Regions from separate parts of the Homo sapiens genome. Here all the other regions are linked to region 1. Evidence: promoter capture Hi-C in 16 types of primary human blood cells and fetal thymus (Javierre and others, 2016). All regions are on one chromosome and are shown on one strand. Each heading gives the region's core, a stretch centred on a gene start or on the middle of the fragment in contact. The rest is flanking DNA. Distances are from core to core; before and after follow the strand shown. Region 1 holds the start of ZNF572 (zinc finger protein 572). Region 2 holds the start of LOC124902016 (a long non-coding RNA gene). Region 3 overlaps MTSS1 (MTSS I-BAR domain containing 1). Region 4 overlaps MTSS1 (MTSS I-BAR domain containing 1). Region 5 overlaps MTSS1 (MTSS I-BAR domain containing 1). Region 6 overlaps MTSS1 (MTSS I-BAR domain containing 1). Region 7 overlaps MTSS1 (MTSS I-BAR domain containing 1).

Region 1 (4,256 bases), core at 501-3,000:
GACATTTTGGTTTTGAGGTGTTATTGAGACTTCCTGTATGAGATGCCAAATAGACCATTGGTTATGAGTGAAGAGCTCAGACATGTAGCTTGGGCTGGAGAAGTAAATTTTTGAGTTGTCTGCCTAGGTGGTATTTGAAAATGTGGGAGTGGATGAGATTGCCTAGGCAGAGAACATTCAGTGATAAGAGGAGAGGATGATCTTGAGGGACTGACTTGGAAAAGAGACTAACAGGACTGACTAGAGATGTTGGAAGAAAAGGAGGAGAATGTGATGTCACCTCAAAAGAGTGTTTCTAGAAGACGAGTCCGTAGCCATATCAAACCTCCTGAAAAAGGACCCGAGAACTAAAAATACCAGTTGCACTAACTAACATCATGGAGGTCATTGGTGATGCTAGTGATTTTTTTGTTGTTGTTGTTGCAGGAGAAATGTTAAGGTTAGTGGAAAATTGATGAAATGGAAACATTGTGAGTAAAAAGAGAAAAGAAAAGCTGAGGGACTATTTGGGGATGGGGGTGGAGGGATGGAGAGTTTAGTTGGTAGTGCGAAGTTTCCAAGAAGATAGGTAGGAAAGTGAGTACCAGTAAAGGGCTTATTAAAATACCAAAGAGCCCAGCACTTTGGGAGGCTGAGGCGGGCAGATCATGAGGTCAAGAGATCAAGACCATCCTGGCCAACATGGTGAAACCCAGTCTCTACTAAAAATGCAAAAATTAGCTGGGCATGGTGGCGCACACCTGTAGTCCTAGCTACTTGGGAGGCTGAGGCAGGAGAATTGCTTGAACCCGGGAGGCAGAGGTTGCAGTGAGCCGAAATCCTGCCATTGCACTCCAGACTGGTGACACAGTGAAACTCCATCACAAAAAAAAAAAAAAAAAAAAAAAAGGTCACAGAGGGACTCTGTATTGTAACAGGAGGGAAGAAAGAAAACGGCAGGGTGCAGACTTGAGTAGATTTCTGTTTGGTAGAGGTGAGATGAAGGGATTGGCTTCTATTTTCTCTGTAATGAAAGAGGAGGGATTAACTACTTTTCTAGGTGTTAATAAGGGTGCCTTGTAAACGAATTGTTTTATATGTGAATGGATGCCTTAGCTTTCTAACTTTCACAGGTAAGTAAATATATATCCATGTTCATAGCGGTGGGAACAGAAACAATAGGTGTTTAAAAATACTAGATTGAGGCCGGGCGCGGTGGCTCACGCCTGTAATCCCAGCACTTTGGGAGGCCGAGGTGGGCGGATCACGAGGTCAGGAGATCGAGACCATCCTGGCTAACCCGGTGAAACCCCGTCTCTACGAAAAATATAAAAATTAGCCGGGCATGGTGGCAGGCACCTGTAGTCCCAGCTACTCGAGAGGCTGAGACAGGAGGATGGCGTGAACCCAGGAGGCGGAGCTTGCAGTGAGCCGAGATCGCGCCACTGCACTCCAGCCTAGGCAACAGCGAGACTCCGTCTCAAAAAAGAAAAATACTAGATTGATTTTGATTCTAATAGTGATGATAATTAATCTGATGATATTCTGATGGCAAGGAAAAGTATAAGCTCCAATCAGGCCCCTGTCGTAAGCCGCCTGACAAGTGAGAGAAATGAGGTTCACAGTTGGCTGGTCACAGCACAGGGAAAGGAAATCCACCCCCACGCTCCTTCTGGTCCAGGACCCTAAGGGTTAAGATCAACGAGAGTGGGCCATCACTGTTTCCTAGAACGGCCCCAGCAAAGCCGCCGGGGGAGATGAGGGTAACTTCCTGTTTCTGCCTTCCGGGTTTGAGAGTTTAGGACCCTGGGTTGGTGGGGTCAGAGGGAGAGGGGGTACCTTCCTCCCGGACCGCTGGGGGTGCAGGGCGCCTTGGGTGTAGCACCCAGAACAGTGAGTTCCTTCTTGGGGGGAAGGGAGCCGAGGGTTGCGGGCTAGAGGAGTGGAAACAGCCCCGTCCAGGCTGCAGTGGACGTCCGGGAGAGAGTTCCCGCTGCTGCCAGGGGCGAAGGCCCAGCATCTCCCGCCGACGGGCCACCGTCATCCTTGTCCGCGGGGTCCCTTACGGGATCTTGTCGGCCGGAGACCGTCTGGTATCCTGGAACTTCACCCCCCAGCGTCTCCAACTTGTACCAGCCAGCGGTTCTTAAAACTAGGCTTCAGGCAGTGCATTTTCTTTGAAGGCTTTCTGATCAAAGCACGGCCCCACTCTGATCACATTGTTGCTCTAGAACAGTGAAAACACTCCTTCCCCGTGGAGAGACATCTTAATGGCAGCCTTGTATGGTCTTGCATTTGCCACCATTTTGCTGAGCCACTGTTCCGGGGGCTCCTTTGCTGCCAAATTTAATAGTATTTTAGTAGGGAAAATGGGGGAGATGGTAATGTGTTGCCCAGACTCTTGCTGCTTTTGTAAATACTTTGATAACAATATGTAACTTAGGACAGCAAAATATATAACTCCATTCGAACAACTCCACCCCCTTCCTTTTTTTGCATTCAGGTGTATGGTTTTTTCTCCCCCCCAACTCAAACACTGGGGATATTAGTAATGTAGACTAGTTTCACGTTTCTCTAGAACAAATCCCCACTTGCTGAGTGTGCTTAGGGAATGTCGACTCACTTTGTTAACAAGGTTTAGGAATGTAGACCTCTGTTTTAAAATGCCAGTATTCTAAATATTCTAAAATAAAGGGACTCTGAGGATTCTTTGCAGTTTGGGATTATGCCCAGCTCTGCTTCCTGTTCTAGTTTACGATAATAGATCAGAGGGTGAAAAAGGTCAGCATCCAAACAGACTTGGAGCTCAGTCCTGCTCTACCACTTTCTAGGTGACCTTAGGAAAGTTTCTTAATACCTTTCAAACTCATCCTATAAAATGCTGGTAGTTGTTCATACACTTCAGAGGGCTACTGTAAGAATTAAATGACAAATGTGTGCAAATTATTTCATTCACTACCTGGCACATAATAGGCAGTAATGGTGAAGATACAATATAAGTACATATACTATTTTTTGTTTTTAAAATGTGTGCATTTGTATATCCTTTTACGTCCTTATTTTTCTCCCAAATAATGATACTCTTTATATTCTGAAATGGATGCCAAAAGTCCATATGTCACTGCCTTCCTGTGATAGATCACATTTTCTTCTTTTTCTTTTTCTTTTTTCTTTTTTTTTGTTGAGACAGAGTCTTGCTCTGTCACCCAGGCTGGAGTGGTGCAATGGCACGATCTCGGCTCACTGCAACCTCTGCCTCCTGGGTTCAAGCGATTCTCCTGCCTCAGCCCCCTGAGTAGCTGGGACCACAGGCGCCCGCCACCACACCCGGCTAATTTTTTGTATTTTTAGTAGAGATGGGGTTTCACCGCATTAGCCAGGATGGAACATTTTCTAGTCCCTTAAAATAGGTTAGTGATTGTTGGCTCCAGAAGACGAAGTTTAGGCTGAAATGGATATTGTGAATATGATAGACTTAGGAACTAAGTGCAAGGAGGAAGAGGTCCCTCTTTAGCCTCCTTTTTATATTGCAGGGTTATTGGCTATAATTATTCCACCTCGGCTTTGTCCTAATTTCTCTTTACTGGTTATATAAATCCTAACTTTCCTTTGAAATTGACTTCAAAGGTTTCCTTCTGTCAAGACCAAGTTATTCTTTTGAAACTAAACAGGGTGCTTTTTTTCTTTAGCTGCTGCTTATGCCTTCATATTGATTCCTTGAAGTCTTTATAAGTTTTATTATTGGTGTCTTAAAAAAAATACTTTGCTTTTTAAAGTAAAAGTGTTTCTAAGCTACGTGTGGACAATGAGGATTAGTATTCTGTCTTTGAAGCTTGATCCTCAGACCTTTAATGTGAAGATTTACTTTTTTGCATTGTTATTTCAGGGTTAACCCTTAATTCTAAACACTTAGATCTGAGATAAGATTTTCTAAAAGGGCTGCTAAAAGTTGTGTTTCTTATTTTCGGTATGGTTCATGGAACATTCTATGCCTCCTATTGTTGTGTTGGAATGGTTGGGAAGGAAGGAGGAAGAATAAGCTTTAACAAATACCTCCAAACATAATTTATTTCCTTCCACAGGGTTTCTGATCTCTAACTTGGCTGTGATCATTGTGATGGAGCAAGAAAAAAAACTGTTGGTCTCAGATTCTAACAGCTTTATGGAGAGGGAGAGTTTGAAAAGCCCTTTCACAGGTGAGGGATCAAGACGATGATCTGAATCCTTAGGAAATTTGATGTAGAAAGAACAGGACACTAGAATGAGACAAACCTTAA
Region 2 (4,256 bases), core at 839-3,338, 370 kb before region 1:
ATCAGGGAGTTAGTGTTCTAGGGATCAGAGTAAGAGCCTGCTACATCTATCCCTGACAAAGGGATGGCTCTAAGCTGGGACTCTGCGGAGACAGCCCTCGCACTGCCTCCCTCCCTGCCCTCTCGCTGCCTCCCTCCCTGCCCTCTCGCTGCCTCCCTCCCTGCCCTCGCGCTGCCTCCCTCCCTGCCCTCGCGCTGGGCTCCCGTTGGAGATCAGAACTCCCTGTGATAAACATCTATCCTTGAACCCGCTAGCACCTAAAATCAGGTTTCATGCATGTGTCACTGGCCTAAGAGCTACTTTATTCCTTTAAGAGGTTTCTGTACATCCCCAAACTATGCCAGAATATAGCGACTTTATCATCTCTTAGGAGGTAATCTTGCAGTTTTTCATATTATTAGGAATAGCTCCCATTTACTGAGTGCTTGCAACATGACAAACCCTTGCAGGAATGTTGTATTCATTTTTTTAAAATCTCATTATACTCCTCTTATAGGTACCATTATAAAGTAGGTATCTCATTTTTTTTTTTTTTTTTTTTTGAGACAGAGTCTCACTCTGTTGTCCAGGCTAGAGTGCTGGGAGTGCAGTGGTGTGATCTTGGCTCACTGCAACTTCTGCTTCCCAGGTTCAAGAGATTCTTGTGCCTCAGCCTCCCAAGTAGCTGGGACTACAGGCATGTGCCACCATGCCCAGCTAATTTTTGTGTTTTCTGTGTTTGGTTTTTTGTTTTTTTTTTTTTTTTTTGAGATAGAGTTTCACTCTTGTGGCCCAGGCTGGAGTACAATGGCATGATCTTGGCTCACTGCAACCTCTGCCTCCTGGGTTCAAGCGATTCTGGGATTACAGGCACCCACAACTACGCCCAGCTAATTTTTGTATTTTTAGTAGAGACGGGGTTTCACCGTGTTGGCCAGGCTGGTCTCAAACTCATGATCTCAAGTGATCCACCTGCCTCAGCCTCCCAAAGTGCCGGGACTACAGGCACAAGCCCCTGCACCCCGCCAAAAGTAGGTATCATTATCCTCATTTTACAGATGAGGCCAAGGGTACTCAGAGAGGTTAAGTAACTTGCCCAAGGTCACACAGAATTCAGAATTTACATCCAGGGCTGAGTCGATAGCTAGAACTTTCAACCACTCCATTCTTGGGGGCATCTCACTGTTGCCAGGACATTACCAACAGAAACATTTGGCAGATAGGGAATTAGGTTTTCTTCCCCCACCCCCGATCCTATAACTGGGAGAAAATAAGAGCCCTTCCCCCGAACATCTGTTTTATCAGCCAGATTCAAACCGTGCTGTCGCCACTTCCTCGCTCAACTGTGTACAGTTGGCCGGTCTGCATCCAAGGCCATGAGTTCAGGGTGGACATGTACTGTCAGGCTTCAGCAGGAATCACCTCCTGCCAGCTTCCTTTGGCAGGGTACACTGCTTATTCATGCAGAGGACCCCTCCTTATTTGCCAGGACAATCTATCCTGAAATCACCCTTTCAGCCACTGACTCCCCTCCGCAACCTGTCTTAGCAGGAGGCATCTTCAGGACAGCTTCCCAGGGATGGCCCTGGGAATCATGCTTAGCTGAATTCAGGATCCTGTTTTCTAGAAACTGACGTTTTAGAAACAGCTTCAGACATAGAAGGAGCTCAACAAACGTGAGTAAGTGGAACCAGGCAGACATGCCAAGCTTCGCGTTCTACGCTCGTAATATTTGCTCTTCCTCGATTCTCTCCTGGCTCCTCCTCATCCCTCTTCCCCATTTTTACTGCACACCTTTACTGAGTTAAAGTTCTAGAGGAAAAGTGGCTGCAACTAAGCCAAGACTCTATCAAAGGCCCTTGAGGGATACAGGCCAGGGACAGAGGATGCATTCTGCAGTTGATTTCCCGGCCAAACTCATCTGGGGTCATTTAAACTAACTCGTATACTATCTTCTTCTCCTCCTCTCTATCTCTTCAATTTCTATCTCAAGTCATACCTTCCCCAGATGGTTTCTGAATGAGTGTCTGGATGGTTTCTGATCTAAACAGAGTTTTTAAAAAAGGAATTGAAATTCTAACCCCGGAATAGCAAACAAGAGGCTGGCTTTTACCATTCAACAGAGAAAGCAAGTATGAGGCTTGCGCAGGAGAGAAAGCAGCACCGTGACACGACCAAAGTGCCCTTGAGTCCCTACAAGCTAGACAAGCCCGAGCCTCCCAGCCTCCATCTATTCAATGGAAGGGCATAACTGGTTTTAGTTTCTAGCTCCCAAATCGAGTCTCAGGTCAAGCAGTGGTAATGTGAATCCAAAAACTATTCTCAGTAGGTCTAAAAGCCTCTTTACTGCTCAGGCTAACTTAAGCACTCACAGTCCTTTGCTTTCTGTTGGAATTATATAAAGCCCGATAAAAATGACCCCAGGTTAACAGTTATTATATATCTCTACAGAAAAGGGGGGGCTTAATTATTACTTAAAAATGTAATTTGTTCGGTAAATAAGATTTTACAAAGCTTGAGGTAGGTCAGTAGAGATTGGTAACGTGGAGAGTCCTCAGTGGTTAGAAGCCACTGCTGGAAGTGGAAGATAAAATGTGTATTCCCAAAACATTTTCCCAGTCTTGCCCAATTACCATGAAAATGGGACATGATTCTAGCACCCTGATGACCTTCTGAGGTTAAACTAAACTGCTCTGTATTAGATGCCCCTCTGAGAGCTGGTCACATCATGTAATGAAGACTTTACTAGATAACTCAAGCCACTCTGGTTCCTCTTCCAGTTCTCCTTCTCCTGCACTGTTTTCTTCCCCACACCCACTTTATTAACTGTGTTCTTCTAACAAAATGCAGATAAGAATAACTACCAATGAATGACTGAAACCTGACTGTGGCTCAGTCATCAGTTAGGAAGTTGCCAGAAGGCAATGGGATTGTGGGACACAGGGGCTGACCACATGTCCCATGGATGAGCACTGGAGCCAGGGTAACATCATGGCCTCGCCTCCTCCAGCAATATCATGGCCTCGCCTCCTCCGACAAGGTCATTGCCCAACTGCAGAGAACCAGTAGGGTCTGGTTTATCGCCACTGTATTGTGCATGTTCAGGTTGCCGACATCTTTTCAAGCAGTGGGCCTGAGTGTTCCTTCCCACTGCCCTGGGGTATGATGGGGGTCCTAATTCCCAACACTTAAGGCCTATGCAAACAGCTGTTTCCTTGTTTTTTATGTTAGTTACTTTTTTAGAATGAGCTCTTCATAGACAAAGGCAAGGATGGTAAATCAGTTTATCTCTTGGGCTAATTCTGATCAGGTGTATGGATGCCTGGGGCACTGTGTGGAGGGTGCTGTGGGCAGCTATGCGCTAGATGGAAAATGGATTGGCTAGATCAGCTAGTAATGTCTGCTACAACCGCAGGACAGTGGAAGGATGCAGACTCTGTATTTGCTACCCTGGGCCTAGGATCTCAAAAGAGAGCTCAAGACACAACTTATTAAACTTCAGTATACACAAGGATCACCAGGAAATTGTGCTAAAATGTAGATTCTGATCCAGAAGGTCTAGAGATTCAGCATATCTGACAAGTTCCCAGAAGATACTGACTTGCTGCTAGACTACCAACCACACTTGGAGTGAAAGGGGCTAGAATGTTTCACCAGCCAGAATACTTTCCCCAGCTCCCTGAGAACATCATCACCACACAGAGCCCCTGCCAGGTGAAATCCAGCTGACGGGATGTCCTGAGACAGTAAATATGACTGTTTGCCAGTTGCACCACTAAAGGACACAGGGTCTGCTGCTGGGACAGTCTCCTGCTGATGAAGCTTCTCCACCCCTCGCCTTAGTGTCCCATCCCAAACCACACTCTTCCATTTAACCAGAGGTCCTCCTACCAACGAGTGAAATGGCAACCCCGGTCTAGAGGAAAGGGAGAGCATGGGAGGGCTGACAACGTCTCAGGGCAAAGTGGCTCGACAGCAGAAGAGTTAAGGGTCAGAAAGAGTCCCTCGGTTCCCACCTGCTCCTATCTTTCCCATGTCTAGGACATTCACGTAACCTTCAGAGTGACTTGGTATAAAAAGGTGGGCAAGGAGTAAGCTTTTATCTTCTCCCTTGCAGAGGATTAGAAGTGGTTCAGAGGCCTCCAGTCCTTGCAAATAGGATGGGATGCCTTTGTTCAAAGGCAGGGAAGGAAAGAGAGACTAAGGGGACCAAGTGCATTCTCACACTTAATGCGCTGTCCTGGGCTTACTGCTCCACGGGCCTGTGTCCTTCATTA
Region 3 (4,256 bases), core at 930-3,429, 340 kb before region 1:
AATCTCAGCTACTCGGGAAGCTGAGGTGGGAGGATAGCTTGAGCCCAGGAGTTCAAGACCAGCCTGGGTAACCTAGAGAGACCCATGCTTCAAAATAAAAATAAAAAAACCAAACATGATCCTATAGTCAAAGTAGCTCCAGTCAAAAGGATTTTGAGAAACATTAAATCCAGAAATAGCAATCTTATCCACTGGGCTGGAGGGGGGCAGAGTGTGGGATGAGGATCTAGTAAGGTTCCATTCAACAAGGCGGTTTGTGGGGAGGCATTCAACCTGCCCTTGGGAGGAGATAATGAGGTGCACCCGGTCATGGGAATGGGGTGGTTAGAAATGATTACGGTGCAGTGAGGACCAATCAGCAGGCCGCTACAAGTTCTGTCTGGGACTCTGGGTTCCAGGTTTCTTCCTAGGGGCATCACACCAGCCTCTACTGCAACAGACAAAAGGAAAAGGCAACAAGAATCACATCTCCATGGTGACGGTCACAGAGCCTGATATACGCTGCCCCAACACTAGGAAAGGTCTCCCAAGGCAGGTCCTGTTCACTGCAGCTGGTGAGTCAGCAGCCCGCACCCAGCCCCTGCCCAGCCTGCACACAGGGGTTGGACACGAACCTGTCACGCAACATTGCTTCATTCCTCGAGTCCTGTGCACATTCCCATTTAGCAGGCAGCAGCTGTGTGGCTCACACCAAAGTTTGCACCGAGAAAAGCTTCCAAGGCTGCCACCAGGGTCTCAAAAGAGAAGGTAAGGCTGTGCTTATCCTCCCCTGCAACCTGGTACCTCTGGCCTCTGACCCTGGTGTCCCCACGGCCCTCTGAGCTATCTAAAAAACTGGAATCATCTTACAGTGTTTAAAAACCTGGTTCAATTTAGTTATCAAGTTGGTACTCAAAAGATGAGGGCTGGCTATCAGTGAGAAACTGGGGCATAATCGTTACATTCGCTAACACTGACTGAGTGCCACTTCATGCATTAGGTACTCAACATTTCACCTTCTCCACAACCCTCAAGGCAGGCATCTATCCTATAAAGGAGGAGACCAAGGCTCACGCAGGTTAAGTTGCTGATCCACAGTCACAAAGGGAAAATATGTTGAGGCCAGGATTCAAACTAAGGCTATCAGATTTCAAATCCCTTGTTCTCAACTCTTCCTCCACAGCACAGGGCCACAGCCAAGGAGACAGAGACAATATAAGACCGGGAAAGTAGAGGAGGGTGTCAGGAAGAATTCATGGAGCAGACACGATGGGATCATAGACTAAGCAGCCCTGGGAGATGGCCAGGGGTGGCGGGGGGGTCCCCCAGGGATCACTGAAAGGGTAATGTAAGAAGAGGAAGCTCAGCTAGGAGGGTGAAAGGCCTTAAAGGTCAGCCTGAGCTTCCACAGGCCATAGGGAGTCCGGGAGAGAAGCACAGGGAGACAGTGTGAACTGCGCTTTAGAAAGAAAACTGTGGCATTGCTATTTCCCATAAAAACTCTTACAGATAGAAAACTAGCAGTGACTGGTCGCGGTGGCTCACGCCTGTAATCCCAACACTTTGGGAGGCCGAGGTGGGCAGATTACTTGAGGTCAGGAGTTAGAGACCAGCCTGGCCAACAAGGTGAAACCCCGTCTCTACTAAAAATACAAAAGTTAGCCAGGCGTGGTGGCATGTGCCTGTAATCCCAGCTACTCAGGTGGCTGAGGCAGGAATATCGCTTGAACCCGGGAGATGGAGGTTGCAGTGAGCTGAGATCGTGCCATTGCACTCCAGCCTGGGCGACAGAGGGAGACCCTGTCTCAAAAACAACAACAACAGCAACAAACTAGCAGTGATGAAAAGTACAGAGCAGGTCAGTAATACAAACAGAAACCAAAAGTTTGCTGAGAACGGGTGCTTCCCATCCCAGGCTGCGAGTCTGAGCTCCAAGACATCAGCCGCGTCAGTCTTATCATCCGACTCCCAGATCATACTCCCCAGGACACGGCACCAATTATCTCTTCCAATTAAACCACCGCCACAGGATGCTAAATCCAGTGATATGAACCGGCAGCAGGATGCTTGCCCAGCCCAGGGCTGGCATTTATGATCCTTATTAGCAGGAAAGCTCTGTCTTCTGCTCCCCACGGCTCAGCTGTGGAACCTGGAGCTCCCACCAGCCCCCACAGCAGGTGCTCTGGGAAGGGGCAGAAGAAAATGATGGCAGGACTTGGAGAAGCCAGGACAGCAGAGTCAACAGTTCCAACTCCATTGGGGAACTTTCCCCATCGATGACAGCAATTTCCCTAACATCTAATTATAGGCATTTTGTCAGCTAAATAATAAGTTGCATGGATTAAATGCCTACAGTGAGCCAGGAACTCCAAGAAGTACCTTGTGTAATTTCATCTAATCCTCGCAACAACCCTCTGAGGCAATTCTTCATTGCCCATCCTCATTTTAAAGATGGGGAAACTGAGGCTAAGAGAAACCTGCCATAGGTGGGTAGACCTAGGACTCAAAGCCAGGTGGTGTCTAGCTCCGAAGTCTGCACTTCTTCCATTACACCACAGCAGACCCTGAAAGTAACACACACGGATTTTACAGGATCCCAAAGTATCTTCAGGGAGGTTTTATTTCCCAAGAGGGTCCTTGGGGCAGGAGGGAAATGAGTTAATCATGAGAGCTCACAAGTGCTGGGCACTCATGAGCCAGGCCTAGGCCTAAGCTCTGTGTACACATTCATTCATTCATTCATCTTCATTCTTTCAACAGCCCTGTGCATAAGCACTATCATCACCCCCATTTTATAGATGAGAAAACTAAGGCTCGAATTAAGGAGATTAAGCCACTTAAAGTTACACAGCTAAGAAATTCTGGAGCTAGATGGCCAGGCGCGGTGGCTCACACCTGTAATCCCAGCACTTTGGGAGGCTGAGGCGGGCGGATCACAAGGTCAGGAGATGGAGACCATGCTGGCTAACACGGTGAAACCCAGTCTCTACTAAAAAAAATACAAAAAATTAGCCAGGTGTGGTGGCGGGCACCTGTAGTCCCAGCTACTTGGGAGGCTGAGGCAGGAAAATGGCGTTAACCCAGAGGTGGAGCTTGCAGTGAGCCAAGATCACGCCACTGCACTCCAGCCTGAATGACTCCGTCTCAAAAAAAAAAAAAAAAAAAAAGAAAAGAAAAAGAAAAAAGAAATTCTGGAGCTGGATACTTAGCTATAGCGGTACCTAACTCTGAAGCCCGAGATCTGACCTCTCCCTAAAACAGACCTGAAACACGAGTTCCCACATCCCTGGTTGGTGAGACAGCCAAGTGCCTCCAACGTTAAGTGGCCTCCTGTCCTGCTGGAGGCTGGACAGGTAGTTTCCATCGTAACACACAGAGGCCACAGCCTGCCTGAGGGGAGGGTTCTCTCTCCCAGACACCACACCACAAGGCCACCCCCCTCCATCTGGGAAGAACCAGGGGCCTTTCCAAAGTGAATCATCCGAATAACCAGTCTTTATCATTTTAACTGTCATCTTTTAAAAACATATCACACACACCGTGCGTTCTTAAATGGAGCTACTGCCCAGTGGCTGCTGACTCATCACCCTGTAAAGAATTGAGTCGCTGAGGACAGATGTGGCAAGGCCAAGCCAGCTGCGTCAGCCCCGCTTGCTTAATCCTGTCTGAAGCTTCTTGAAATACTTCACCTGCTCCATGGAATATAATTCATCTTGTAAAATTGCTTAAAACTTTTAGACCAAAGGCATTTACATTTAATTAAATGACCAGGGAGAGTTAACTTCCCTCTACCTCCCCTGGAAGAGGTCACCTTCAGAAGTGACCTATTTCCTCCCTGAGCCCAAAGAGGTTGTGGACCCTAAAGGGCCCCAGTCTAAGCCCACCCCATGCCACTGGGCTGAATGGGGGCCACCACATCTTTTGGCAAGCCATCCATCAACAGAGTCACCAACAGGCAAGCAGCCTGGGCTACCCGAGCAGACTGTCAGCCACATGGGAGGAAAGGTGGGGGTGGGGTGGGAGCAGGAACAGAGGGGAGGACCTGAAAGAGGAGGTGGAGAAAGGCTGGGAGGAAGAAGAGGATGAAAAAGGCCACTTGTGACTCAGGGGGCCTATGGGCCAGCAGCAAGATCATGGAGCCCCAGCACTGCCTGACCCACTGCATCACCGCCCACATTTTTAACAAGGCTCCAGGCCATTCACAGGCACTGGACAGTTTGAGAAGCACTGGTCTACAGCACAGGCTTTGGAGTCAGAAACATCCGGGTACCAGCCCC
Region 4 (4,256 bases), core at 778-3,277, 320 kb before region 1:
ATCTAATCAGCATCTCTTGGTAAATAAATGACCATAGAGTCATTTATTTACCATTCATTCATTTAAAAAATCTAAAAATATTTTCCTGGGTCACAAAGAATAACTGAGTCTTGCTGCTTCTCAAATTATCTTTAGATAAGGCATCTCTTACACTTCTACTGACTTTTAAAAGCAAGTTATATCCACAGTTTCATAATTTAGACAACTTGTAAGAAATGCAATAGCAAGATCCCTAGAAACTTAAACTATTACTGAGAAGACAGAAGAATTTGGATGTGATGAAAGCAGGGTTTCTCAAGTGCTTTAAAAGACAAAATGCCCGTGAGTTTTAAACCATCCACAGAGAACAGAGCCATTAGAAAGCTACTGCTTAATATCTTGAAGGAAAATTTGTATCACCTATTTTTCACTAAATAAACATGTTGTATAACCTGCAGCTAAAAGCTATTTTCCTCATGGTTAAAAAAAAAAAATCTGCACCATTACATCTTTCTCTCTCTCTCTCTCTGACAGTCTTCCTCTGTCACCCAGGCTGGAGTACACTGGCTCTACCATGGCTCACTGCAGCCTCGAACTCTGGCCTCAAATGGTCCTCCCATCGAACTCTGGCCTCAAATGGTCCTCCCACCTCAGCCTCCTGAGTAGCTGGGACTACAGGCATGTGCCACCATACCCAGCTAATTTTTAAATTTTCCTTTTGTAGAGATGGGGTCTCACTATGTTGACCAGGCTGCTTTCAAACTCCTAGGCTCAAGTGATCCTCCCGCCTCAGCTTCCCAAAGTTCTGGGATTACAAGCATGAGCCACCACGCAGTCATTCCTCTTTAAATAAAAGGAATTTACCTACATTTTCAAAAACTACTTCAAAGTACATTTTCATACTATTTATGTCTTATGTATGTGCTGAGTAATTCATGTTTGGATACATCTAGATTTAGAGTTTTTTTATGAAATACGATTCTTTTGGGTGGAATTTGTTAGATATCAAAGTTTCTTTTTTCCCCTTAGCTTTATTAAGGGTATAGCTGAGAAATTAAAATTGTTATGTGTTAACAGTATACATGCTATGTTTTGATGAATGTATATGTTGTAAAACGACTAAGATATTTTTTGTAGTGAGAGCATTTAAGATCTAATCTCTTAGAGATTTTCAAGTCTTCTTATTAACCACAGTCACCATGCTATACAATAGATCTCCACAACTTATTCATCCTAAAACTTTGTACTTTTAGCTAACAACAGTGTTTATCCTCAATAAAGCATGTTCTAATATAAAAAAAAAGATGTGTGGCATGTTGAAATATTACTATTTCTTCCATCATGTTTTAGCTCATTTCAAAAGAATTAAATCATTTCTCACTTCTTCAATTGTTACAGCTCGTCAGCTATAAAAATAAGCAAGGCAATTCAAGTTCCTTGAAATACCTGAATGACTATATAGACGTATCCTTGATAACAGGACACAGGATCAAGGTATAAGTCATGTGCATTAAAATCCAGAACTCTCTAAAATCAGAGGCCGAACAAGAACCTCTGGAGCCACCTACAGGTCCCCATGGGCTGTGTGATCCAACCCATCACCAACAGTGGGGTCATGTCCTGAGAGAACTCAATCTTAAAAACAAATGTCTCCAATCAACCTAGCGTTTCAAGAGTAGCAAGGGGAATACAGTTTACCAGCAGGCCTAAAGCAGATTTAGCCTCTATAGCCTCTGCAATCCTATTTATGGTGGGCATGGACCATCAGCTTCTTTATTAATGTCTGAAATCAAGAGGTGGCAAGACTCACCCCATCCCAGCATTTCAAAGCCTTTTATTAACAGAGGAAAAAACTGGGGCAAAAGAATACCAAGGAGCTACCAGAGTTGCTCCAAAGATTATGAGTTGATGTTCAGAAGCAGATGAGTGATCCGGTGAAAGGGTTTGTTGTTACTATTACCTAGTGTTTTTGAATTTTTTTTTTTAAGTATTTCAACACACCAACAATGGACTCTTTGGGTGCAGTTTAACTTTAGCTCTCTTCTGTTACAAAAGTTTTGGGTGGGCTACAAAATAAGGAGTTGCTTAAGAAAACCTCACATCCTCCAAGCAGCACCACATCAACAATGAATTTCGTCTCACTGGAAGCTCACTTTGCCCTCTCTCCCCTAACTCCTCAGGCCCCCAAAGCAGCCCATCACAGCTCCTTAGTAGAGGGATAAAGCCAGCATTTGTAAAAGGGAGCCCTATTTCCCAGAGATATATTACCTTGGAAAGGCTTGGGGGTCTCCACATCAAAGTTGGTGGGAAGCACAGTGACTCCAAGAAAGTCCAGCCGTTTCCCTACTCTCTCCTCTCAGGCTCAGGATTATAGGAAGAGTCTTCATCCCAAATAGCAGCCCCCCCCCAGATACTGACCAGACGGTGTTCCAAGGAAAGGTAAGTGAGAAAATGTGAGAATCCAAGGCCATGGGGACTGCTGTGAGATGGACACCACAAGGCCATCAGTACGCCATGATGAAAATGCCATCTTTATCCAATGCCCACTGGGCCCAGGTCTGCACTCATCGAGTACTATGGGGTCCACCCGGGACTACCCTCAAGGAGCTCTACAACATCCAGCCTCTATGAGACATACTCCAAGTAGGAATGGATCCAGATTAATCTTCTCCAAAACAGAGAGTTTCCCTTTCTATCTGTTGTGGGCAACCTGCCATCCTTCATAAACTTTCCAAAAATAATAGTATTAACAATAACCATTTCCATTTAGACCAAACCCTAAATCAAGAGCTGGCAAACTATGGCAGCAGGCCAAATCCGGCCCACTGCCTGTTTCTGTAAGTAAAGTTTTATTGAAAGACAGCCAGGGCCATCTGTTTATCTATTATCTAGGGCTGCTTTTGCTCTACAATGGGAGTGTTGAGTGGTTGTGAGAGAGACGGTAGTCTGCAAAGCCTAAAATATTGACTGTGTGGCCTTTCACAGTAAAAGTTTTCCCTGTGTGGTACAAAGCATGGAAACCTCTAAGGAGAGGTGTCCATCATTATCAGCAGGAAGCAGCCCTTCCCTGAACAAACCCCCAGCACAGAGCAGCGATGGAGTCGGGGGCGCTGAGATGGGAGCTATGCTTCCTGACCAGCTTTCGTGACAATCACATGACCCTGGCGAGCCTTGGCACCTCTGGCTATACAATTCAGGCATCAATACCTACTTCACAAGGCTGTCTTGAGGGTCAGCCAAGACAGAGTACACAAAAAGCTCCCGGCACAGGCAAATTACTCCTCAAGGTGCTCCATTAATGGTAATGACCCTACTGACCACTGTTACTCAAGAAAGAACACAGGACTAATGTGAATCCCTGCAATACTCATCTTCAGTCATTAAGGTTCCTACTGCTATGACCTCGAAAAGATCATAGACTCAGCACGACAACCAAAAGAAAGGACGCAAGGCTCTCTCTGTGTTGAGTCATAGAAAGGCACAAGGTCAGGACTTAATGTTCTTGTGCTTGGGGAAAAACACTGAGCTGTTTCAGGTTGGAATCTTTCAATTATCAAACTTACGGCAGCCTCCTAGATATGGAAAAGACTAAGAGCATTGTCACCCAGGGTCTGTCTCCGAACATTGTATCTTTCATCCTTTTAACAGACAGCAATTGGTACAAGGTATTCCCAGACAGTGGCCAAACTACACACAGGCCAACAGAAGCGCTGAAGAGCCTTTTTTTTTTTTTCCCTCGAGATGGAGTCTTGCTCTGTCACCCAGGCTGGAGTGCAGTGGTGCAATTTCGGCTCACTGCAACCTCCGCCTCCCAGATTCAAGCAATTCTCCTGCCTCAGCCTCCCGAGTACCTGGGATTACAGGTATGCACCACCACGCCCAGCTAATTTTTGTATTTTTAGTAGAGATGGGGTTTCACCATGTTGGCCAGATTGGTCTCGAATTCCTGACCTCATGATCTGCTTGCCTCGGCCTCCCAAAGTGCTGGGATTGCAGGCGTGAGCCACCGCGCCCAGCCAAAGAGCTTATGTTTTAAAGGGCTGTGAAACCACACTCCTGTTGCTTCAACTGACTTGACACCCACATATGCTAGGTGTGACTTCAGTCAGAACACACAGGATGGACAAGAATGAGATCATCCATATATGGCGCAGGGCAGGGACCTGACACAACCAAATCCTGAGAACGTGCTAAGATAGAGAAGCCGCGTTTCCTCGCCCTTCTCTCCGATCCTTCCATTTTTACCCCATCTCCCCTGACATTTGCAAATGGAAGCT
Region 5 (4,256 bases), core at 667-3,166, 310 kb before region 1:
AGTTCTTGGATTTGAGGAAATAAGCATTTTTTTTATCCCCATCTTATTCATATGAACACTAAGCTTGGAGAGGGTAAGTAACTTGCTGTAATATAAATGTTTGTACCAGATAATCTGGTCAGTAACCAGCACTTAAACTATTTGAACATGTCTATAATAAGAAGCAGGGCTGCCTTCCAATGTTGAAACAAAAATTAGTCCTGCTGTGTCCAAGACATTTCTATCTTTGGAATTCTTTAAAGATTTGCTCAATTCGATAATCTGTTCAGTGACTAATTCTATTTTTCTCTTCGATTCATTCCGTGGGCACTGCCTTCTCTCCTTTTTCCATCTCCGCAGACCTGAGTTCGTAACATTTCATCCACAGTTCACCCACTCGCTCAGTCTCACCTTTGGGCCCCTGGTTACTTTGTCTTCATCCCAATTCTTCATACTCTTCCAGGAAGACTTTGGTGATTTCCACCTGGCTTTTCTCCTCTCTTCTTTCTCCTGGCCTCTCACAGGGCCCTGGCTTGGCCAGGCTGATCTCAGACAGCCTAGCTATAAAAAAAATCTGGCCCCCAAGGCCGGGCACAGTGGCTCATGCCTGTAATCCCAGCACTTTGGGAGGCCGAGGCGGGTGGATCACCTGAGGTTGGGAGTTCGAGACCATCCTGACCAACATGGAGAAACCCCGTCTCTACTAAAAATACAAAATTAGCCAGGCGTGGTGGCGCATGCCTGTAATCCAAGCTACTCAGGAGGCTGAGGCAGGAGAATCACTTGAACCCCGGAGGCGGAGGTTGTGGTGAGCTGAGATTGTGCCATTGCACTCCAGCCTGGGCAATACGAGTGAAACTCCTTCTCAAAAAAAAAAAAAAAAAAATCTGGCCCCCAGAGACAGTCTACAGTGTTGAAGTTCCACTCTACTGCTGATGAGTCTCACGATTTTGGGCAAGTTACTTAACCTAGCTGTGGTCTCCATTGTTTCATCCATAAAATATTAGACCCTATTTCACAAAGCTGTTGTGAGAATTCAGAGACAACACACATATTAATACAATGTGCTCATTAGCACCCAGCACACAGTAAATGTTCAATAGTCTCACTGCATGATAACATTCTGCTTATCTGTTTACAGTCTCCATTAAACTGATCTCCCTGGGGTGGGGACTGGATCATATTTCCTAGCACAGCCCCAGGACAAGCACTGTGGCTAGCTCACAAGAGCTTAAGAAACTGTTGAATCAATGAATAAATGGACACATGACTGTGTGTATAACACATGCAAGGCACTGTGCTCAGGAACACAAGGGCAAGGCAGCCATGCAAACTATCAACTCTAATACAAATGCTAAATAGATGTTCTGGTAATGTGCTGTACAAGCACGATAGAGGGAAAAATTAACTCTGACAGGAAAGTGCACTGAAGAAAAATACTGATGGAAACACAGGAACAAAGACAAAGGAACAAAGATATAAGAGAAAATGGCACAAGCCACGACAAAGAGGCTTAGAATGCATGGTCTAGCATGGGCATCCGGCTAAGTTCGCCACCGGGATCCACAGACCCCTTGAAACTGAATGGAAAACTGAGTGACTATGTACCTTTCTAGGGAGGCAGTCCATAGCTGTCTGTTCCTTGAAGGGGTCTGAGGTCCAAAAAGATGAAGGGCCCCTGTGATAGGGTGTTGGTCATGGGATAGGGAGGGTGGAGGGAGAATGAGGAGGGGTCATCAGCGCAGAGTGAGCCCAGCTGGCCGAGGGTTAGCATACCAGTTGGCAGATAGTGAGCTTTATCATGTGACCATTAATGGGGGTCCTGGGGAGTTTTCAAAGAGGGAAGAGGGGTGATCAGATCTGAACTAAGGAAAGAAAATCCATCAGCAGTAGGGAGAGGAGGAGGTCAATGGAGGAGTTTAGGGGGAGAGTTGAAGAAGCCAGCGGGAATAAGGACAGAAATTAAAATTCCCATTTAAGAAGCAGGGAAAGGTTCAAATGAACCCAAGACAAATCTAGTCTCACTAGTTATATAAAAAGAAAAGAAGAACAGATCTAAGAAGCAGGCTGGGATTCAGGTGGAGGGGAGAGGAGATGGCCACGCCCTGGGTTTCCCCCCATCTTAGGATTTGATTTGAGATGGTGAGTTTGAGGAGAAGGCATGACCCTCATGGGGAGGCGCTCTCCCCAGAGGATGCAGAGCTCACCAGGGGACCAGGCCTGGGGCTGTGCATGGATTCTGGCACCCTCTCAGGGCAACTGTGAAAGCGCGACATGTTTCTGAGAGAAGGCCAAGACAGAAATGGTTAAAATGGTAACTTTGATGTTACATATATTTTACCACAAAAAAAAAATAACAATAGGCCGGGCGTGGTGGCTCATGCCTGTAATCCCAGCACTTCGGGAGGCCGAGGCGGGTGGATCACCTGAGGTTGGGAGTTTGAGACCATCCTGACCAACATGGATAAACCCCATCTCTACTAAAAATACAAAATTAGCCGGGCATGGTGGTGCATGCCTGTAATCCCAGCTACTCAGGAGGCTGAGGCAGGAGAATTGCTTGAACCCGGGAAGCAAAGGTTGTGGTGAGCTGAGATCACACCATTGCACTCCAGCCTGGGCAACAGAAGCGAAACTCCGTCTCAAAAAATAAAAAATAAATAAATAACAACAACTCCGGGAGGAGGTATTATTATCATTTCAGACATGTGAGGAAACTGGGACTTAAAAAGCATCTGCAGTTGGCAAGGTCACACAGCTACTGCACTCCGAGCTAAGATTCAAAGTCTCCAAGCGGCCAGGCACAGTGGCTCACACCTATAATCCCAACACTTTGGGAGGCCAGGGTGGGAGGATTGCTTGAGCCCAGGAGTTCAAGACCAGCCTGGGCAATATGGCGAGACCCTTTCTCTATAAAAAAAAATTAGCCAGACATGGTGGTGTGGGCCTGTAGTCCCAGCTACTAGGGCAGGGGTCTGGGGGACCACTGAGGTGGGAAGATCACCTGAGTTCAGAGGGTCAAGGCTGCAGTGAGCCATGATCGCGCCACTGCACTCCAGCCTGGGGGACGCCACCCTGTCTCAAAACAAAAACAAAAAAAGTCTCCAAGGCTTTCACCTCCACCGCTGGGCTCTAAAACCAAGATGCCAACAGGCCCGGCCAGCAACTGAGGAGGACACAGCGCAAGCGGCCACACGTGTGGGCTGTAGGAAGGTGGTGATTCGCTTTTTGTTTTCTCACAGGCACAATCAGTTCCACGTGCCCTGTCTTGTTAGGCATGTTTTGTTCAGGCCCTAACCCTACCAATGTGTGTTCATGGAGAGTGATGCTGTGGACAGGAGGTGTCACCAGATCTGCTTCATCCAACAGACAGACAAAGCCAGGTTTCCATACCTCAGCTCACATCTACGGCAGGAATTCATCCTGTCCTAGCTCCGTTTGAAAACCCGCCTTTCTCGTTCATGCCCCTACCAGGTCCACAGGTGAACTCCTCCCTCCCTGTCATCATAGCTGGCTAAAAACTTCCCAGTAGCCCCTTTGTGTCAGGATGGAAAACAGACCTACAAGGTCAACTTAGCACCTACCCGTGACACTCTTCGACAGCATGCCAGACTCGGCTATTAGGAAGGGAAAATTCATACCTCTGAACGGGACCAGAAAAGAAAGATGAAACGGCATCAGCAGTTAGCCACAATGAAGACCTCAGTGTGTTTGGTCACCCATCAAAAAGCTGACCTATACCCAGAACCCAAACTCCATTCTTAGCTATATCGACAGGATCTCACCCCAAACAAGCTTTTGCCCAGCAAATTCCACAAAGCTTGTCAAGGTTTGACTCCCTTTGTTCCCGTGAAGTGCAAACCACCATTACCACCTTCTTGTACACAGGGGCCCTTTCCCACACATTAGTTTACCTTCAATGATGTCCTACATGTAGCAGGTCCCCAAAGCTATTGAATGAATACAAACCTCACTGTTTAGACAGATATTCTGATTGTACCTGGCTTTTAAACTTTTTTACAAAGCAGGTTGATTGCCACTGACTTCATTTTGTTCCACTTGAGGTGCTGAGCAAAAGATGGATCTCTCAGTAAACACCAGCCACAAAATAAGACTCCCCTACCACCTACACACACCAAAAATACAATCCTCAGAAAAGCATGATCACATGGTGCAATTAGAGAAGATTTCAGCCCCACGGTTTTGGATTCTATTTTCTGGATAAATAATTACTCATTTTCTAATTAAACAAACAATTAGTAGAAAGCACAGCCTGA
Region 6 (4,256 bases), core at 691-3,190, 280 kb before region 1:
ACTGCATTCTTTCATGAATGTTAATATTTTACCAAAAGTGACTACAAGGTATGTGTGTGTGGCAGTGGGGATGGGGTGGGGTATTAGTTATTAAGCCAAAACAAAAAGCCAATCTATGGGAAGCAAAGGCAAGAACTAGGATGGAAAGAGGTGGGGGAGGAGAAGAGGGGAGAATTGTCAGTGCTTGTATACAAAATGCACGGTGGCTCTGTTAGCTAGAAGTGGGCAACTGCTGAGTAAACCACTTTATTATGTAAACTGCCTAACAACACAAATAACCACGCTGCACACAAATCAACTCAGTCACCCATAAAAACACACATCCTCTCCAAGCTTGGACCTTCCTCCCCACTGCTGCTGCTCCCGCCGCCGCCACCACCATCGCATAATTCACCGGCATTGATGAAGGCTGCCGAGGTTAGACAGGGAACAGCACACACACATCCAGATGTAATTCAAGTATCATCTGGGGAAATACACTAAAGCCTAATGGGGAAACCCCATTGAATGGAGCAAGACTTTCTCTCTGTTAGGGGTAAGACAATCCTGAGCAGGACAGACACACATGCTTGGGTGTGGAATTCTGATATCCCTCACTGTCCCTGCTGGAGGATTATAGAATTCTGGTGACATCCTGCCCTGAGGATCCAGGATATGTTTTGGTAAATGTGGGATTCCGGTGAGTTCATTCTGGGCTAACACATGATGACTGCCCTTTCAAGTGTCATTCCAGGAAGACATGGTTAAAAGCAAAACACGACTGAGGCAGGAGCACTGGTTGACCACAATGAACAATTCTCTCTGGCAACTGCTGCTACCCAACCAAAGATCAATAATAAAAGGCCACTTGTCAAATGGGGAACAGTGCTGTCGCCAGGCATCAGTTTTTACATCAAGAAAAGAGCAATGGGATTAGAAAGGAGGGATTCGTTTTATCAGCAGTAATGCTAGGCTCATGGTTACAAATCTCCTAAATATACGTACTTGCCCGTCAAAATAATCAAACACATAAGCAACCATAACTCCATCAACTGAAAAACATCAAAAACAAGGTATTTTTTTAAATTTATAAAATAAAAACACTCTTTAAAAATATACAGATTCATTTGTTATTTCTAGTTCTTATGTATAGTATGAGTTGTAAAAATGCTAAAAATGCATGACACCCTACTGTCCTGGGCTCAACACAAAGTCTGAAGTTTCATAGAAAGCACACCCCAAACAATGACAGCTTTAAAAAAAATGGGGAATCGTAAGACAAACTTCACATGCCCGGGCCATTTTTAAAAAGATGTTTTATTCATAGCAGACGTATATGACTAAATACATTGTGCTAACAAATTAAAATGACGCAAGACAAATTGAAGTGGAAAAACACCAAAATGATGAGACCAAAAGCAGACTGTACATTTACAAACCCATTTAAAACAATATTTTTTTTACATCACCTCCCACTAGGGCAATGGCAGCTCTAAAATCTGTGTATAGGAGGGCTTAGGAGCTGGAAAATTTATCTTGAAGATATGCTTACATAATAACCACAGTTTTTAGCTATGTTGCCTATTATTATAAATAGCAATCATTTTTATAGATTTTATTTGTACTTTATGTAAGATTGAGATTATAAAAAGTGCTCAATATAAAAAGTATATGGATACACATACGTACATACATGTACACAAACACATACACATATATACAGTTTAGATGGTTTCAAGAGTTGTTTATTTTTTTTTGAGACCAAGTCTTGCTCTGTTGCCCAGGCTGGAGTACAATGGTACGATCTTGGTTCACTGCAACCTCCGCCTCCCAGGTTCAAGTGATTCTCCTGTCTCAGCCTCCCAAGTAGCTGGGACTACAGATGCCCGCCACCACACCCAGCTAATTTTTGTATTTTTAGTAGAGATGGGGTTTCACCATATTGGCCAGGCTGGTCTCGAACTGCTGACCTCAAGTGATCCACCGGCCCCTGCCTCCCAAAGCACTGGGATTACAGGCGTGAGCCACCGCATCCGGCTGATATACCTTTTTATTTTTAATCAAATGAAGAAATTTGACTACATTCCTTTATGGTAATATTCAAAGAATTTTCAGTTCCAGACCTAAAAGAAGGGCCTTTTATATGATGTTTTTAATTTGAAAAAAAATTGTTTTCAGTTTGAGGCTAAAGAGTTTGGTAAGTAGTAATAAGAAGACAAATATTTCAGGTGATAGATATCCCAATTACCCTGATTTTTTTTTTTTTTTTTTGAGACAGAGTCTCACTCCATTACCCAGGCTGGAGTGCAGTGGCATGATCTTGGCTCATTGCAACCTCCGCCTCCTGAGTTCAAGTGATTGTCATGCCTCAGCCTCCCGAGTAGCTGGAATTAGAGGCCCGCCACCAAGCTCAGCTAATTTTTTTGTATTTTTAGTAGAGCCAGGATCTCGCCATGTTGACCAGGCTGGTCTCTAACTCCTGACATCAAGTGATCCACCCACCTCGGCCTCTCAAATGATTCGAACTTTACACATTATATCAATTTATCAAAGTATCATATGTGCCCCCATAACATGTGGATGCATCAATCTTTTTAAAAAGAAAAAAAAAAAGTTTGCTAGGTAGAAATAGTAAGACTCTAATTACACGAAAGAGTTCTGGGCTTGAACACCAAAGGCAATCCAGAAGTTAAAGGCTAGTGAAGTCTCAATTAAACAATCTGGTTAAAATAAAACTCAGGAGCAAACAAGAGCAGTCTGGCTGGAGCCAGGAAACAACCCAGCTGGGAACCCAAACAACCCAGCACCTTCTCCCCTCAGAGGAAAGATTCCCTCCCCTCCTCCACTCCATCCATGAAGCAGGGTGAGTGCCTTCTACCCAGTTGTCCTTTGCACCAGAGACTTGACCTCAGGGAGGGGTCACCAAGATTCAAATTCTGAACTCCAGGGAGGAATCCTGCCAAGACCCCATCCCAACAGCCCCTTGCTCGAGAACTGACGGGCTTCCCACCAGGATCCATGAGGGCTGCATAAAAGTGGAAGCTACTGTTTGCACGCAGTCGTTCATTCAGCAGATGGGTCTGCACCCTGCTGAAGGCCAGATACTCAGCATCTGGGAAAGTGAGTTCCTCAGGAAGGAGCAGGTCCTGTTAGAGGTGTCTCCAATCTGGTGGGGAAGATAGTGACAGCACAGCTAGGGGAATCCTCTGACCCCAGCATGTCCCCCGAGGCCCTGAGCAAGGACCCAGTTTACTTCCTGAGGGAAGACAAAGGTCTCACAAGTGATACAGCTCTTAAACTCCTGGGAGACAAGCAGCAGATCCTCAAGCATACAAACAGGGTGAAGAAGGGGAGGGCTGGAAAGGACATTCTGGGCCTGGAATGCACATGTGCCAGCAGATAGGGATCAAGGGTTTTAAGGGTTTCAGAAAACAGTGAGCAGTTCTTTGTGGGTGCAGTTGCCGGCCATGGGTGGGGAGATGTCATCGGACAGGTGGGTTATGGCAAGATGGCAAGAGGCTTTACAGGACAGCACAAACATACCTCAATGGAGAGCAACATCTCCTGGAAAGCTTTTCAAAATTGGAGATTCCTGGGTCTCACCCAGTTATTCTGATTCCATGGGAGTGGCAGGGCCTTGAAATCTGTCCCTTAAAGTGAACTTCTTGAGTGACTGTGATGCCTAATGCCAGATCTGGAGACCATGGCATTTACCAAAATCTGTACTGCAAATGTGTAACACATTTGTAAGAACTAAGCCATCAGCAATTTTCTTCACCAACATGCTTCACCAACCTCGGCGATCCAGACTCACTGATTAAAGCGCATGTCTGATGGACCAGCCTTCGATGCCTGTCCTAGAAGGTCCGGCGTCCACCTGCCTTCCTCCTACACACACTCCAAGTCTGAGAGGGGACCTCAACCCAAATGCCCATCTGTAATTTTCCCTTTTCTCTTCTAACCTTCTCTCTCCATTATCTTTGGCTTAATCTTGCTTCCTCCACTTCCTTTGTACTCAGAGCAAAAATTGGAAGCTCTAAAGATAATATAGAAAAGGAAATTTACACTTCATTCATAGCTAATAAGAACCAAGGCAAGATTTTAAATCATAGAATATTAGAGCCAAAAAAAAATTACTTGTGATGATCTAGGCTCCTAGGCCCTTTATAGGTGGGAAAATGGAAGCCCAGAGAAGGGAAATATTTACTCAAGGTCACATAGCTGCAAAGGCACGAAGTCAAACCTACGTATCCCAGATCCCAAGCTAGTTGTTATTC
Region 7 (4,256 bases), core at 1,118-3,617, 270 kb before region 1:
AAAACATTAACAGTTTTACCTTCCTAATGGTATTAAACATCATTTTTTCTTACCCTTAGAGCAGGTTCTCAGCCTCAACACTATGGACATTTGAGGCCAGATAATTCTTTGTCGTGGGGGGCTGTCCTGCACATTTAAGATGTTTAGCAGTATCGCTATCTTCCATTCACTAGATGCCAGCGTTCCCCCACCCCCTATTTGGGACAACCAAAAATGGGACATTGCCAGATGGCCCCTAGGGGACAAAAATCACGCCCAGTCAAGAACCACTGCCTTAAAGGCACATCTGAGAAATCAACTTAAAGAAAGTGGTGAAGAAACAATTACAGTATTACTTCAGTTTCATTTTCTTCTGTTAAATGAAAGTACAATTAAGTATATTTTTTCAAAAGATCATGCATAGCACTCATTATAACAAGGAGCACTCATTATAACAAGGAACACCTTGTTATAGAATCGTCTATTTATATACTTCCCTAGCTGTCAATTCTGTCTGAAAATGTACATAAGAGATATCTGGAAAGTTGTCTATAAAATATTAATACGGGTTACTTCTGGGAGTTAAAATCTGGACCAATGTATTGCTTTCTCCTTTGTACTTTCCTTTATGGCTGGAGTCTTGTGAGTTTTCTTTATAAGGGTCATGTATCATTTTAATGAAAACAATAAAGTCATTGCATTTTTTAAAACGTAAGATCAAATTAGAGGTTCTGGCAACAACAGCACCATGAATTTACAATCCACCCGAACTCTAAAGTCTGTTTCACGCATGCTGCTACACCACATTCATCAGTTCTGCCTTCATGCATTGGAGACCTGCTTGGCTCAAGCACAGGTTTCTGGATTTATTCCTCTAAGTGGCAATTTGCCCCTATGGGAAACTAAGCAACAGCCGGGCAAGAATCGTGTCTGGCTGGCTCCTGGCAGAGGCCCTTTGGCAGCTACACCTGAGCTACTGTCAACCAACACCTGTGTGAGGGTCTTGTCACGACATGACCTCCATCCCAAGTGTGTGCCCTGGGGGTTACTTCCACCCAAGAGCAGAACTGTATATTAATTTATGTCAAATGAAAACTTGTGAGAGCTCAGGCTATCATTCAAGGCCCATCAAGACATAGTGGGGACTCCAATTATGACACCCAACATACATACCATTTTTTTAATCCAGTCCAGATAAGAACACCCCTTGTACACCTACATCCAATTAAAGAGATGAGGGCCAAGATCAGAGTCCTCAGGATGGCCACTGGAGATCTCTGTCCAGAGGGACAGCAGTTGGCACCTCTAAGAACACAAAGGCTCAACCAACCAATAGCAGCTTCGTCCGACCATTCCTTCTCTTTCTGAGCCACAAGACACGATGAAAAGCTTTCTGAGAAATCTGAGCATTCAGAAACACTGCTCACCTACTTCTAGGCAAAGGTGCCACCATCTCTCGGCTACACAAGGAAGAAGGACCAAAGAGCCAGACCCTCCTCTCCCAAACACCAAACACTCCCATCCAGGGAGCCCTGGAGAAATATTATTAAGACGATCAAAGTATTTCTTAAGAAAAAGGTGGGCCAGGGGCAGTGGCTCACACCTGTAATCCTAGCACTTTGGGAAGCTGAGGCAGGAGGATCACTTGAGCCCAGGAGTTCAAGACCAGCCCAGACAACATGGCGAGACCCCATTTCTACTAAAAATACAAAAAAAAAAACAAACAAACAAACAAACAAAAAAAAAACACCAGGCCAGGCACGGTAGCTCACGCCTGTAATCCCAGCATTTTAGGAGGCAGGTGGATGAGGAGGTCAGGAGTTCAAGACCAGCCTGGCCAAGATGGTGAAACCCATCTCTACTAAAAATACAAAAATTAGCTGGGCGTGGTAGCAGGCACCTGTAATCCCAGCTACTCGGGAGGCTGAAGCAGAGAATTGCTTGAACCCGGAAAGTGGAGGTTGCATTGAGCCGAGATCGCACCACTGCACTCCAGCCTAGGCGAAAGAGCGAGACTCCATCTCAAAAGAAAAAAAAAAAAACCTAGCTGGGTGCTGTGGCACATGCCTGTAGTCCTAGCTACTCAGGAGGCTGAGGTGGGAGAATCCCTTGAGCCCGGGAGATCGAAGCTGCAGTGAGCTGTGATTGTGCCACCGCACTCCAGCCTGGGCAACAGAGCAAGACCCTGTCTCAAAGAAACAAAGCCAAAGGAAAAGGTGAGGCATGTTCATCGAGAACATGCAGAACTGGCCAGTGGCCTGGGCAGGGAGCACTGGGTCCTGAGGTCTAGTCACAGCCCTGCCAGTCATGGACTAGGGGAAATCATTTCACTTCTCAGGGATCATTCCCTTATAATGATGATAACCAAAACAAATAATTCCATCACCATTACCAATACCATCAATTATTGAACATTGAAAGAATGAAGGAGATGAATAAAGATTGCACGTACAGAAGCCCAATCTCTTGGATTGAACCTTAGCTCTCCCATTTGCTATGCGACACTGGGCAAGTTATTTGACCTCTGCATGGGTTTAAGTCACATCTTCACAGGGCTGAGAGGAGGAACGAATGAGGTCATATACAGAAAGTGCTCGGTGCAGTGCCCAGCACACTGGAAGTGCTCAACAAACATTTGATATGAGGGATCCAAGTGGCCACAGGCTCTCAGTAATCTCCTTTAGGATGTGTGGGGGACAGACTGTAAAGTCTAAGTCAGACTGTCCATCCAGACTGGAACCCCCCTTTTAGAGTACCTGGTGTGGAACCAGCCAACATGGGAAGCATCTGCATCTCCCTATTAGTAAACCAGGGTTAGGCAGAAACAGACCAAGGCAAAGGCAGCTGGGTGTTCAGTGCCAGACAATTTCTCTGCTGCTGCTAAGCAAATGGCAGGGTGGAGTACTCAACCCTGAGATGAGTGTGCCTGAAAAAGACGACTACTCAAACCACTGAAGAAACTTCTTATCTGCCCCCACTTGGAGCGTCATTTCAGTCTTTACCAAATTAGCAACAAAAGGAGGGGTCCCCTTTCTAGTCAAGGGGTACAGCTAACAGCTCCCCACCTACGAACATCCACCCAGCCAGAAGGTTGCCCAAAGTAGCTTGCTGCTGACTTAATGACACTTGACAGTCTATCAGAGAGAGTCAGGCCCACCTGTTTTAGGCAATATATAATTTAATAGATTCTAAAAAAAGAAAAAAAATCAACTTCTAAGAACAGAAGACAAAAACCTCCTTGTTGAGAAATGAAAAAAAAAAAAAGTGAGTAAATGTCATTAAAATTTAAAGGCAAAGTGATGTTGGGTTGTTCCAGATATTTTTGTAAGTTTCTTTCAAGGAAAAAAGAAGTTTCTACCCACCTGAGAGCAGTTTTACTATAATAATTCAAGCTTAGAGGAAGTAAGAAAGGAGGAAGAAGGTAACTAGAAAGATTGAAAGGCAGCAGAGAAAAAGTCCTGCCTTTTGGACAGCAAGACTACATAAAGGAGACCATACTCAAGTTTCAAAAGAAACCCGCAACCCAAGACACTGGAAGCTCTTAGAGCCCTTTAGAAAGCAATTCCCCAACTGTCCTTGGTTTTTGCATCTGCATCCACCCACCAAGAAGTCCCCAGAAAGTTCATTCCTGAGGTTGCTGGCTGAGCTCTGTCCCCATTTGAGGAAATCCCTCGGAATGCACTCCCAGAGCCGTGAAAACAATTCAACACAGACCCCACTGTGGATTTCACCTGAGAACACATAAAGGCTTCACAACGTTCCAGACAGACCCAAATCAAAGAAAACAAAACTCCCGCCACGCCCCGGCTTCTGCCAAGTCCAAAGTCACAAGGCAAAATGAGAAGGCGCACCTCCTCCAGGAGCCCCCTGAATTTCTTCAGAGAGGAGAGCCAGGAGTTTCTGGAGCCCTTGGCAGTGCGTTCGTTGAAAATACAACTCAGATTACACTGGGTTCTAAGAAAGGAAAAGGTCCCTATTAAAGAAACGGGAAGAGAAAGCCAGTTTGTTTACAAGCGTGTAAAGAGGACTCCCTCCATCACTTCCTTGGGTGAGAGATGGGGCTTCCCTGAACACGTGATCTCACCCACACTCCCCACACACACCACACCCTGTGGCTGCTTCTCTTCAAATCTCCAGGGGGATTCAGCAATATTGAAAACTCCTATTCAGCTGTCACTACCCAGCTGTGACACTTCTTCTGGAACATTCTCTGACACACCCCCTTCCCACCTACCCTCTGGTTTAGCTGCACCTACTCCCCAACTTATCACATCATA

Evidence for each region. Contacts are between HindIII fragments. The CHiCAGO score rates a contact against its expected background, and 5 or more counts as called.
Region 2: a fragment that was not itself captured here is called in contact with the fragment with the promoter of ZNF572 in region 1 in 10 of 17 cell types (naive B cells, erythroblasts, fetal thymus and 7 more); the score reaches 10.5 in naive B cells.
Region 3: a contact is called between a fragment that was not itself captured here and the fragment with the promoter of ZNF572 in region 1, in 4 of 17 cell types (fetal thymus, monocytes, total B cells and 1 more). The highest score is 7.2, in fetal thymus.
Region 4: a contact is called between a fragment that was not itself captured here and the fragment with the promoter of ZNF572 in region 1, in 6 of 17 cell types (fetal thymus, naive B cells, megakaryocytes and 3 more). The highest score is 9.4, in fetal thymus.
Region 5: a fragment that was not itself captured here is called in contact with the fragment with the promoter of ZNF572 in region 1 in 8 of 17 cell types (naive B cells, total B cells, M1 macrophages and 5 more); the score reaches 8.9 in naive B cells.
Region 6: a fragment that was not itself captured here is called in contact with the fragment with the promoter of ZNF572 in region 1 in 1 of 17 cell types (naive B cells); the score reaches 6.1 in naive B cells.
Region 7: a fragment that was not itself captured here is called in contact with the fragment with the promoter of ZNF572 in region 1 in 6 of 17 cell types (megakaryocytes, total B cells, M1 macrophages and 3 more); the score reaches 8.2 in megakaryocytes.

Annotation. Positions count from the first base shown.
Region 1 is chr8:124,971,545-124,975,800 of GRCh38, forward strand. It overlaps ZNF572 (zinc finger protein 572), which reads left to right and starts at 1,751. Exons shown (of 3, transcript NM_152412.3): 1 at 1,751-1,872; 2 at 4,062-4,175. The coding sequence starts at 4,097. RefSeq lists an enhancer at 1,694-1,853. The HindIII fragment of the contact is 4,233 bases long and covers 1-3,809 here.
Region 2 is chr8:124,605,443-124,609,698 of GRCh38, forward strand. All of the region lies in intron 3 of MTSS1 (MTSS I-BAR domain containing 1), which reads right to left. LOC124902016 (a long non-coding RNA gene) reads left to right here and starts at 1,295. Exons shown (of 2, transcript XR_007061088.1): 1 at 1,295-1,655. RefSeq lists an enhancer at 1,891-2,240. The HindIII fragment of the contact is 806 bases long and covers 1,686-2,491 here.
Region 3 is chr8:124,626,381-124,630,636 of GRCh38, forward strand. The region is part of intron 3 of MTSS1 (MTSS I-BAR domain containing 1); the gene reads right to left. Among named protein-coding and RNA genes, the nearest start is that of NDUFB9, 89 kb to the left of the region's middle. RefSeq lists enhancers at 1-1,097, 1,906-1,965, 1,996-2,045, 3,219-3,268, 3,428-3,722 and 1 more. The HindIII fragment of the contact is 2,938 bases long and covers 711-3,648 here.
Region 4 is chr8:124,646,332-124,650,587 of GRCh38, forward strand. All of the region lies in intron 3 of MTSS1 (MTSS I-BAR domain containing 1), which reads right to left. Among named protein-coding and RNA genes, the nearest start is that of MTSS1, 80 kb to the right of the region's middle. The HindIII fragment of the contact is 5,497 bases long and covers 1-4,256 here.
Region 5 is chr8:124,665,022-124,669,277 of GRCh38, forward strand. The region is part of intron 3 of MTSS1 (MTSS I-BAR domain containing 1); the gene reads right to left. Among named protein-coding and RNA genes, the nearest start is that of MTSS1, 61 kb to the right of the region's middle. RefSeq lists a silencer at 3,327-3,621. The HindIII fragment of the contact is 3,711 bases long and covers 62-3,772 here.
Region 6 is chr8:124,689,798-124,694,053 of GRCh38, forward strand. All of the region lies in intron 3 of MTSS1 (MTSS I-BAR domain containing 1), which reads right to left. Among named protein-coding and RNA genes, the nearest start is that of MTSS1, 37 kb to the right of the region's middle. The HindIII fragment of the contact is 3,218 bases long and covers 332-3,549 here.
Region 7 is chr8:124,705,705-124,709,960 of GRCh38, forward strand. The region is part of intron 1 of MTSS1 (MTSS I-BAR domain containing 1); the gene reads right to left. Among named protein-coding and RNA genes, the nearest start is that of MTSS1, 21 kb to the right of the region's middle. The HindIII fragment of the contact is 2,003 bases long and covers 1,367-3,369 here.